Regions from separate parts of the Homo sapiens genome. Here region 1 is linked to region 2. The links are contacts of gene promoters, found by promoter capture Hi-C in human tissues and cell types (Jung and others, 2019). All regions are on one chromosome and are shown on one strand. The core of a region is centred on a gene start or on the middle of the fragment in contact, and the rest is flanking DNA. Distances in the headings are between cores, read along the strand shown.

Evidence for each region. The method cuts DNA at HindIII sites, captures the fragments that hold promoters and counts their contacts. A contact is called where the count stands out against the background at its distance.
Region 1: a contact is called between a fragment that was not itself captured here and the fragment with the promoter of IFNL1 in region 2, in 1 of the 25 tissues and cell types used here (psoas muscle).

What each region holds. Positions count from the first base shown.
Region 1 is chr19:39,161,203-39,166,261 of GRCh38, forward strand. All of the region lies in intron 1 of PAK4 (p21 (RAC1) activated kinase 4), which reads left to right. Among named protein-coding and RNA genes, the nearest start is that of PAK4-AS1, 27 kb to the left of the region's middle. The HindIII fragment of the contact is 8,833 bases long and covers 1-5,059 here.
Region 2 is chr19:39,293,245-39,298,016 of GRCh38, forward strand. It overlaps IFNL1 (interferon lambda 1), which reads left to right and starts at 3,163. Exons shown (of 5, transcript NM_172140.2): 1 at 3,163-3,348; 2 at 3,561-3,638; 3 at 4,720-4,772. The coding sequence starts at 3,178. The HindIII fragment of the contact is 11,779 bases long and covers 2,060-4,772 here.

The DNA of each region.
Region 1 (5,059 bases), core at 1,577-4,076, 130 kb before region 2:
TGCAGCCATCATGAACCAAAACGCGGTCCCTGTCCATATGAGTCACTGACTTAGCGAGGAAGATGGCCACAGACAGGCAAACAACTGTAATGTGTGAGGCAACGCTGAGGGCCCTGGAGGGAACGGACCTAGGCTGACTGCGCCAGGCTCCGCGCCAGGTGCTGGGGGTGCCACATGGAGCAAGACCAGGCCAAGCCCCTGCCTATGAGCTCACGCTGCAGCCCTCGGCCAGTCCTGCCACCTCCACCTTTACAGTGTGCCCAGAACCTGCTCATGCCGCCCCCTCTGCAGCCCCCACAAGGTCCTGCCCCCTTGATTTCCACTGGGCCATCACAGCCTCCTCCTCCCTGGTCCCCCTTTCCGTTCTGCCCCCACAGACTGTTCCCAGCCAGTGGGAGCCTGTGAACTCCTGAGTCAGGCGGTGGCCCTCCTGGGCTCAGAGACCCCTGCAACTCCGTCTCACTCGGGAAAGGACCAGGCCCTCCCGGTGGCCCCCAAAGCCCCACACGATCTGCCCCATTACCTCCTTGGCCTGTCCTTCCACTTGCCCCCTCGCCCACCCTGCTCCAGCCACGTGGCCTCCTCGCTGTCCCTTGACCATATCAAGCAAATTCCTACCGCCCTGGCTGTTCCTTCCTCCTGGGCTGCCCTTCCTCCAGAGCCCTACATGGCTCCCTCTCCCCTCCTCACGCAGGTCCCTGCTCACGTGTCCCCTTCTCAGCAAGGCCTGCCTGACCACTTTATTTTATAATAATAGTTATTATTATTATTTTGAGATGGAGTCTCACACTCTGTCGCCCAGGCTGGAGTGCAATGGTGCGATCTTGGCTCGCTGCAACTTCCACCTCCCAGGTTCAAGCGATTCTCCTGCCTCAGCCTCCCAAGTAGCTGGGACTACAGGCGCCTGCCACCACGCCAGGCTAATTTTTTGTATTTTTAGTGGAGATGGGATTTCACCATGTTGGCCAGGCTGGTCTCCAACTTCTGACCTCAAGTGATCTGCCTGCCTTGGCCTCCAAAAGTTCTGGGATTACAGGCATAAGCCACTGCACCCAGCCTGTTATTCTTATTTTTGAGACAAGGTCTCACCCTGTCACCTAGGCTGGAGTGCAGTGGCACGATCACTCACTGCAGCCTCGACCTCCCAGGCTCGGGTGATTCTCCCGCCTCAGCCTCCTCAGTAGCTGGGACCACAGGCGCACACCACCACACCTGGCTAAATTTTTATTTATTTTTTATTTTTGGGGTAGAGACAGGGTCTCACTAGGTTGCCCAAGCTGATCTTGAACTCCTGGGCTCAAGCGATCCTCCCTCCTTGGCCTCCCAAAGTGCTGGGATTACAGGCGTGAACCACCGTGCCCGGCCTTGACCACTTTATTGAGAATTCCAGCCTCCCCTCCCCTCAGCTCCTTTCTGATTGCTGCGTTATTTTCTATGTCAGCATTTCTCACCCGACTTAGTAGATGTTTTTCTGATTTATCTCATACATTGACTGCCTCCTTCCTTCTAGAATGTGAGTGCTGCGAGGACAGGGATGTTTCTGACTGTTGGGTGCACTGCTATGGGCCCCAGGCCCAGCAGAGTCAGCCCTTGGTAGACATGGACGGGTGCGTGGGTCGATGCGTGGGTGGGTGTGATCGGGTCACTTGTGGGTGGAGTAGGTGTTTGCTAAGGCAGACTCTGGGGATGTGTCGGTCCCAAACCTGAGGACTCCTTGGAGGAACGAGGCTCAGTGTGGGAGGCCTGAAGAGAGATGTGGTTAGAGGAGGGTTGGGGGCCGTGCAGGATGGGGGCAAGAGCTAAGCCAAGGTTTGGAGGCAGGAATGGCTTGGGGGACTCAGGACAGCGAGGAGCCTGCTGTGCCGGGACGGGAAGCCAAACTCCCAGCGCCTCCACCATCAAAGCACATGCCAGAAGGTAGGAGGTAAACTGAGGCAGGGAGGGGCCCTCCCAGAGCTGGTAGGTGAAGATTGTGGCAGGGTGGTGAGTGGGACCCAATGGTGGAAGGCTGAGTGCAGGCTGGAGGCAGTGAGCGGTCTGGGTCCCCTTCCTGATTCGAGTTTCATTTTGGTAACGATGAAAGGATGCCTGTGGTCCTGGCCACCTCCCCTGCTCTGCCCCTGGGCCCCTGTGTTCTGGGTGGGCCAGCCCCCTCCCTTCCAGGGGCAGCAGCTTTGATCAGAGCCTGGAGGGGGCGGGGCAGGAGGTAAGGGTTTTTGCACGCTCACGTCTGCTGACACTGACAGCTTTGTCGCACGGTGGATCTTGCTTTTCCATTTGGGCCAGTTAACCTTGTGGGGGAGAATGGGGGTGGTGGGACCCTTTTCCTCCCAGAAAAGGTCAGAGGATGCAGGGGGTGACTGGAAAATCTGAAGTGTCTGCTAGGCCAGGTCAACGCTGCCTGTCCCGCATGTTAAAGAATTCAAAAGATTTTTTAAAATTTGAAATAAACATTTTAGAGTAGGATACAAAATGCGCTTGCATTTCTGGGATCAAATACTGGACTTCAGAGGCATCTGTGCCCCGGCTGGGGCAGAAGGCTGCACCTTCCTGCTGCTCTGGGACTACTGCCCCCAGGTCCCAGCTGCTTATCTGAAAGATTTCCCGGGTGCTGCTGGGCCTTGTCCAAGGCCTCTGAGCAGGGGAATAATGCAGCGGACAGGGACGATCATTCCACGGAGTCCCTACTGTGTGCTGCCCTGGGCTACGAGGGGGTAAGACAGAGGACAGTCCCTGCCCTGTGAAGCTGACACATTCTAAGGGAGAGGCAGATGCTAAAGAATTACACATATGGCTGGGCCCGGTGGCTCACGCCTGTAATCCCAACACTTTGGGAGGCTGAGGCAGGTGGATCACCTGAGGTGAGGAGTTCAAGACCAGCCTGGCCAACATGGTAAAACCCCATCTCTACTAAGAATACATAAATTAGCCGGGTATGGTGGCGGACGCCTGTAATCCCAGCTTCTTGGGAGGCTGAGGCAGGAGAAGCACATGAACCCACTAGGCGGAGGTTGCAGTGAGCCAAGATCATGCCATTGCACTCCAGCCTGGGCAACAAGAGTGAAACTCTGTCTCAAAAAAAAAAAAAAAAAAAAAGAATTATACACACACACACAAGCACGCCATATATGTGGTAAGAGCCCTGAGGAAAGATAAAGCAGAGACAGGTGTAGAGGGCGACAGGACAGGAGCAGGGCTTGTGAGCACAGGCGGGCCTGGGAAGTCAGGGAAGGTGGGAGATCAGTGAGAGGAGAGTTCCAGGTGGGGCACTCGCCCATGCAAAGGCCCTGAGGTGGAACCATGTCTAGGATTTGAGGAACAGCAGGGGGACCTGTGTGGCCAGGGCACAGTGAGTACAGGGGTGCTTGGGAGAAGAGGAGGGCAGCATGGTGATGGGCGCATCCTGTGGGGACTCTCAGGCCACGAGGAGGCATTTTGGGGGCCAGCAAAGGGTTTAAGGCTGTGAACTCTGGAGTGGGCAGGACTCTGGAATGGGCAGGACTCTGGCTTCCAGGCCCAGCTCTGCTCGGTGAGCTTAGTGAGAGATTTTACCTTTGTGAGTCTCTGTTTCCACAGCTGCAAAATGGGGCTCAGAATGGCCACTCCACCGTGGTTGAGGGCGCCTGCGAGCTCAGCGTCAGCGTCTGCTCTGGGCCATGGGTCCCTTGTGGTGGTGGCGATGGTGGTGGGAGTACCGAGCTGAGCCTCAGGCCACATTTGGTGGGAGGGGTTGGTTTTAAGCATCTTTCCTGCTGCACAGGCCCATGGGAAAGGCTGGTGTACAGCCATTGGGGAGGTGGGGGCCCCGGGGCCCACTTTGTGCTTCCTCCCACTACCCGTGGGGTCCAGGACAGGTCACACAGGAGGGAGGGACCCTCACTCAGCAGAGACTAGGCAGGAGAGGAAAGGCAAGGTCTGGGTGTAGACAGAAAGAATGGGAACGGAGGGAGAGGGGAGGCCAGGACCAGCCTTGAGAGGATGATGATGATGATGATAATAATAATAATAATAATAATAAGGCCGGGCGCGGTGGCTCACGCCTGTAATCCCAGCATTTTGGAAGGCCGAGGCAGGTGGATCATGAGGTCAGGAGATCGAGACCATCCTGCCTAACACAGTGAAACCCCATCTCTACTAAAAATACAAAAAAAAAAAAAAAAAAATTAGCCGGGCATGGTGGTGGGCACCTATAGTCCCAGCTACTGGGGAGGCTGAGGCAGGAGAATGGCGCAAACCCGGGAGGCGGAGGTTGCAGTGAGCTGAGATTGCACCACTGCACTCCAGCCTGGGCGACAGAGCAAGACTCCCTCTCAAAATAAATAAATAAATAAATAAATAAATAAATAAATAAAATAATAATAGACAAAACCAACAGTGTCACCTCAGCCCTCCAGGGCAGCAGGACAGGCAGGTAAGAGCCCAGCCTTCAGTGCCTTCCATACACAACCGCCCAGGTTCAAATCCTGGCTGCTTCTCATGTCTGCCTCTCACTGGCTGCTTCTCCTGTCCATGCCCTGGACAAGGGCCTTCCCTTCTCTGGGCCTCAGTTTTCCCATTCATGAATTGGGATGAGGATGCTTGTGAGGATGGAACGGGATTAGACGCACAGCAGGGCCGGAACCCGCGAATCTCTGCAGACAGGCCTGGAGTCTGGTGTCCACTCTGCCACCCTAGCTGGGCCACCTGGGTTAATGAGGTCCCCCTCTGTGCCTTGTTTTCCCTGTCTGTAATCCGGGGCTTATTAATGGCCCCTCCCTCCAGGATCATATGTGGGACTCCGGGTAAAGTGCCTGGAAGAGGGCTGGTATACAGTAGGTACTCAGTAAGTGCTGGCTGCTATTGGAATGGTGACCGGCACTTACTGAGCACTTACTGTGTGTGTGATTTGCCTTGGTTCTGATCCCAACCACTGTCTCTGGGCCAGGCCCTCCGTGCCCTCTGTTCTGCGTAATTCCTTATAAAAACTCCAGGAAGGCCAGGCGCAGGGCTCACGCCTGTAATCCTAACACTTTGGGAAGCCAAGGCAGATCACTAGAGGTCAGACCAGCCTGGCCAACAT
Region 2 (4,772 bases), core at 1,913-4,412:
GTGAGCAGCTAGAAGTCATTTGTTCTGGGGACAGTCAGAAGATCAAGGAGTCATGTAGAAGTCGCCCGAGAATTGACCCTCCAAGGGAAAGGGAAGCTGCAGTATTTATTCCATTGCTTTCAGCCCTCACTGTTTGAGGACTGCTACTGGGGGAATCAATCCTGCTACTTCCAGTCCATTCTGCATGTGGGCAGTAGAAAGGCCTTGGTCTCCAGCAGAGAAGCAGAAAGATCCAAGCACGTGAGGCAGGAAACTGTCAGCCTGTGTGGGAACTGACCACCATATCCACAAGCCGAGGGGATACAGTAGAGGGCATCAGCTGGTGTGCTACCGTATATTCCAGAAAGCCGCCCACCCAGAGGACAGGTGTGAGCCTTATGGTAATGGGGAGCTAGAGGCAACCTAAGTGTCCATCACTGGGGGAATAGGTAAGTAAAAGTGCTGTGGTTGTATACACCATGAAATACAGTGCACAGGAAACTTGATGTACACAGCTTGTGAAGAGATCTCAGAAGCAGTGTTAAGTTAAAAAATAAAAAAGAAAGAAGTAGAAGATTTATAGCACAATTCCACTTATGTAAATTGGAAACACATACACACACGAGATCACAAATTATAAAGATACATCTTTGCAGCTATTTATCAAGTGCATTATAGTGGGTGTCTGTGGGGGTGCGATGGGAATGGGAATTGGCAATGGAGGAATAAAAGCCTTGGAGGGTCTTTCATGGGCCAATTGTGATCCTGTGTTATGATCTGAAGAGTATGATTAATAACTTTCTGCACCAAAGGGCTAAGAAAAAAAATAAAGGAGTGAAAATAGGAAATGTCTGCACATCAGAGCAGTTTCTTACCTGCTACACAATTACTATTACTGCAGGGATGATGATAGCAAGGCAACCAGACTCACCGCCTGCCTTCTCTCCAGGCAGCCCCTCCAGTCCCCAGGAAATGCGCTTGCCCCCAGCGAATAAGGAGTTCCCTACCCCTCTCATGCTACCCAGAGGGACAGAAAGGAGAAGTGGGCCTGCTACCCCCAGAGGTTCTCATCTTCTACCTGGGCTGCATATGGAATAGGGAGCAAGTACATAGGACTCATCATACCCCATTTCTGCCTCTATCCCACTGTGGGACCTTAGGCAAGTCACTTTGCCTTCCTATGCCTCAGTTATCTCACTAGTAAAATGGGCATGATTATTGTATTAGTCAGGGTTCTCCAGAGAGACAGAACAAATAGGATGTTTGGATAAATAGATGATAGATAGAGAGATATAGACTAGATAGATGAGAGAGATAGACTAGATAGAGAGAGAGAGAGAGAGAGAGAGAGAGAGAGACTAGATAGATGAGAGAGAGATAGGAGGGGATTTATTAGGGGAATTGGCTCAGACAATTAGGGAGGCTAAGAAGTTCCACAACAGGCCATCTGCAAGCTGGAGAACCAGGGAAGCTTGTAGTGCAGCTCAGTTCCAGAATAAAAGCCTCAGGACTTAGGGGGTAGCTAGTGCAAGTCCCAGCATTTTTTTTTTTTCTGAGATGGAGTCTCACTCTGTTGACCAGGCTGGAGTGCAGTGACATGATCTCAGCTCACTGCAGCCTCCGCCTCCAGGGTTCAAGCGATACTCCTGCCTCAGCCTCCCAAGTAGCTGGGACTACAGGCCTGTGCCACCACGCCTGGCTGATTTTTATATTTTTAGTAGAGATGGGGTTTCACCATGTTGGCCAGGCTGGTCTCGAACTCCTGACCTCAAGTGATTCACCTGCCTCAGCCTCCCAAACTGCTGGGATTACAGGCGTGAGCCACCATGCCCAGCTGCACATCCCAGCATTCAAAGACCAAAGAGCCTGGAGTTCTGATGTTTAAGGGCAGGTGCAGGGTGTCCCAGCTCATAAGAGAGAGCAAATTCTCCTTTCCTCTGCCTTTTTGTTCTATTCAGGCCCTCGGCCAATTGGATGGTGCCCACCACATTGGGTAACAACGGGTCTTCCTTACTCAGTCCATTGATTCAAATGCCAATCTCTTCTGGAAACACCCCAGAGTCATACCCAGAATTAACGCATCACCAGCTATCTGATAAACTTAACCAGTCAAGGTGACACCTAAAATTAACCATCACAATTATAAAAATAACTACTCAGAGAAACATTAGGAGCATGAACTGAAATTAGTTAATGGGACATTCTTAAACCAATGGCAGAAGCTCCTTCTTGGCCAGGAGCAGTGGCTCATGCCTTTAATACTAGCACTTTGCGAGGCTGAAGCAGGAGGATGGCTTAAGGCCAGGAGTTCAAGACTGGCCTGGGCAACATAGTGAGACCCCTATCTCTACAAAAATAAATAAATAAATAATAAAGTAAGGTGGTGGCTCACGCCTGTAATCCCAGCACTTTGGGAGGCCAAGGCAGGCAGATCATCTGAAGTCAGGAGTTCGAAGCCAGCGTGACCAACATAGTAAAACCCAGTCTCTACTAAAAATACAAAAACTAGCCAGGCGTGATGGCATGCACCTGTAATCCCAACTACTTAGGAGGCTGAGGCAGGAGAATCGCTTCAACTCGGGAGGCAGAAGTTGCAGTGAGCCAAGATTGCACCATTGCACTCCAGCCTGGGCAACAAGAGCAAAACTACGTCTCAAAAAATAATAATAACAATAAAATAAAAAACAAGCTTTTTTTTTTTTGAAACAGGATCTCACTCCATCACCCAGGCTGGAGTGCAGTGGCACGATCTTGGCTCACTGCAACCTCCGCCTCCCGGGTTCAAGTGATTCTCATGCCTCGGCCTCCTGAGTAGCTGAGACCACAGGCGCATGCCACCACACCTGGCTAATTTAGAATAAAAAAGAAGCTTCCTCTCTGCCACTCAGGTAGCCTTATCCCTAATCTCAGCCTCCGTCAGGGACTCCCTGAGGCCAGTTGGCTGAAAGCTGCCCAGGGAGTTCTAAGGATTTCAGTTTCTCTTTCCTTCTTGATGCAGCTCCCAGCTCACTTGGCCCTGCCCACACCTGTTCCCTCATCAGGCTCCCAGACGGGCCCCGCCCACTCATGCCTCTTAAGTCAAAGTGGAAATTCTCATTTCCAATTACCTTTTCACTTTACACACATCATCTTGGATTGCCCATTTTGCGTGGCTAAAAAGCAGAGCCATGCCGCTGGGGAAGCAGTTGCGATTTAGCCATGGCTGCAGCTTGGACCGTGGTGCTGGTGACTTTGGTGCTAGGCTTGGCCGTGGCAGGCCCTGTCCCCACTTCCAAGCCCACCACAACTGGGAAGGGCTGCCACATTGGCAGGTTCAAATCTCTGTCACCACAGGAGCTAGCGAGCTTCAAGAAGGCCAGGGACGCCTTGGTGAGTTCCTGTTGCTGTGGATGAACCACTTCTACGGGTGTCCCAATTACTGCCCTTCTACTGTGGGCTAGCCTCTAGCCTTCCAACTATGGCAAACCTCTATCCTTTCTGCACTGGGTTAAACCCATGCTGTCAGGCCAACTTCATCCTTGCTGCTATGAGCTAGCTTCCAGCCATCCTGCTGTGGGCTAACCCCTGCCCTTGCTCTCTAGGAAGAGTCACTCAAGCTGAAAAACTGGAGTTGCAGCTCTCCTGTCTTCCCCGGGAATTGGGACCTGAGGCTTCTCCAGGTGAGCTGAAAGTCAGGCCCCCTTCACCCTTCCCTTGACCCTCTCCCCCCTCTTCTTAAGTGGCCCCTTAGCCTTCTTTGTTTCCCTTGTCCTTCACTCTCTTGGACCTCTCCTCACCTGTCCTGTGCCCCTGCCACTTCAAAACTGCTCTCTTGACTCTGTCCTTCCCCTGGGTCCCTTTTATCATCTCCCATCGGCCCCACTTCCCTAGCTCGCTCACCTGTCCCTGTCACTTCCACTCTCACTCTTCATTTCTCTCCCAAATGTCTCCAGTCTGTCGCCCACCTGTGCCTTTCGTCCTGCTCCACTTCTCCCTGTCTGTTCCCAACACTGACCCCCTCTCCCTCTCACCTGCCTCTGTCACCTGTCCCTCATTATCTCTCACTGACATTCATCCAGCTCATGCTCCCCCCTCATCCACCCTTCTCTTTTTTTTTTTTTTTTTTTTTTTTTTGAGACAGAGTCTTGCTCTATGGCCCAGGCTGGAGTGCAGTGGCATGATCTCGGTTCACTGCAACCTCTGCCTCCCGGGTTCAAGCAATTATCCTGCCTCAGCCTCCCGAGTAGCTGGGATTACAGGCATGTGCCATGATGCCCAGCTAATTTTTGTATTTTTAGCAGAGACGGGGTTTCACTATGTTGGCCAGGCTTGGTCTCGAAATCCTGACCTCAGGTGATCCACCCGCCTCGGCCTCCCAAAGTGCTGGGATTACAGGCGTGAGCCACCACACCCAGCCCTACCCTTCTTCTCTGTGCATGCAACTGTCCCTCTCTTACTGTGCCCCCAACCTGCTTTCTCCTCACCCGTCCCCACCCCGCCCCAGAGAACTTCTGTGACCCCCGTAAGTCCCCTTTCATTTGTCTCCATTTCACTTATCCCCTCACCTGCCTCCTTGACCATCCTGCCTCACCTGTATCCTTCCTCATGTCTTCCCCCTCCTGTCTCCTTCTCCCCAGACCCCTCACCTGTCCCCACCACATGCACTGTGTCACCGACCTTCCCCAGGACTGCCTACCTGTCCCCACTAACTGGGTCTTCTTGCCTGTTCTCCCTCACCTGCTCTTTCTCACCTCTCCTCAGGTGAGGGAGCGCCCTGTGGCCTTGGAGGCTGAGCTGGCCCTGACGCTGAAGGT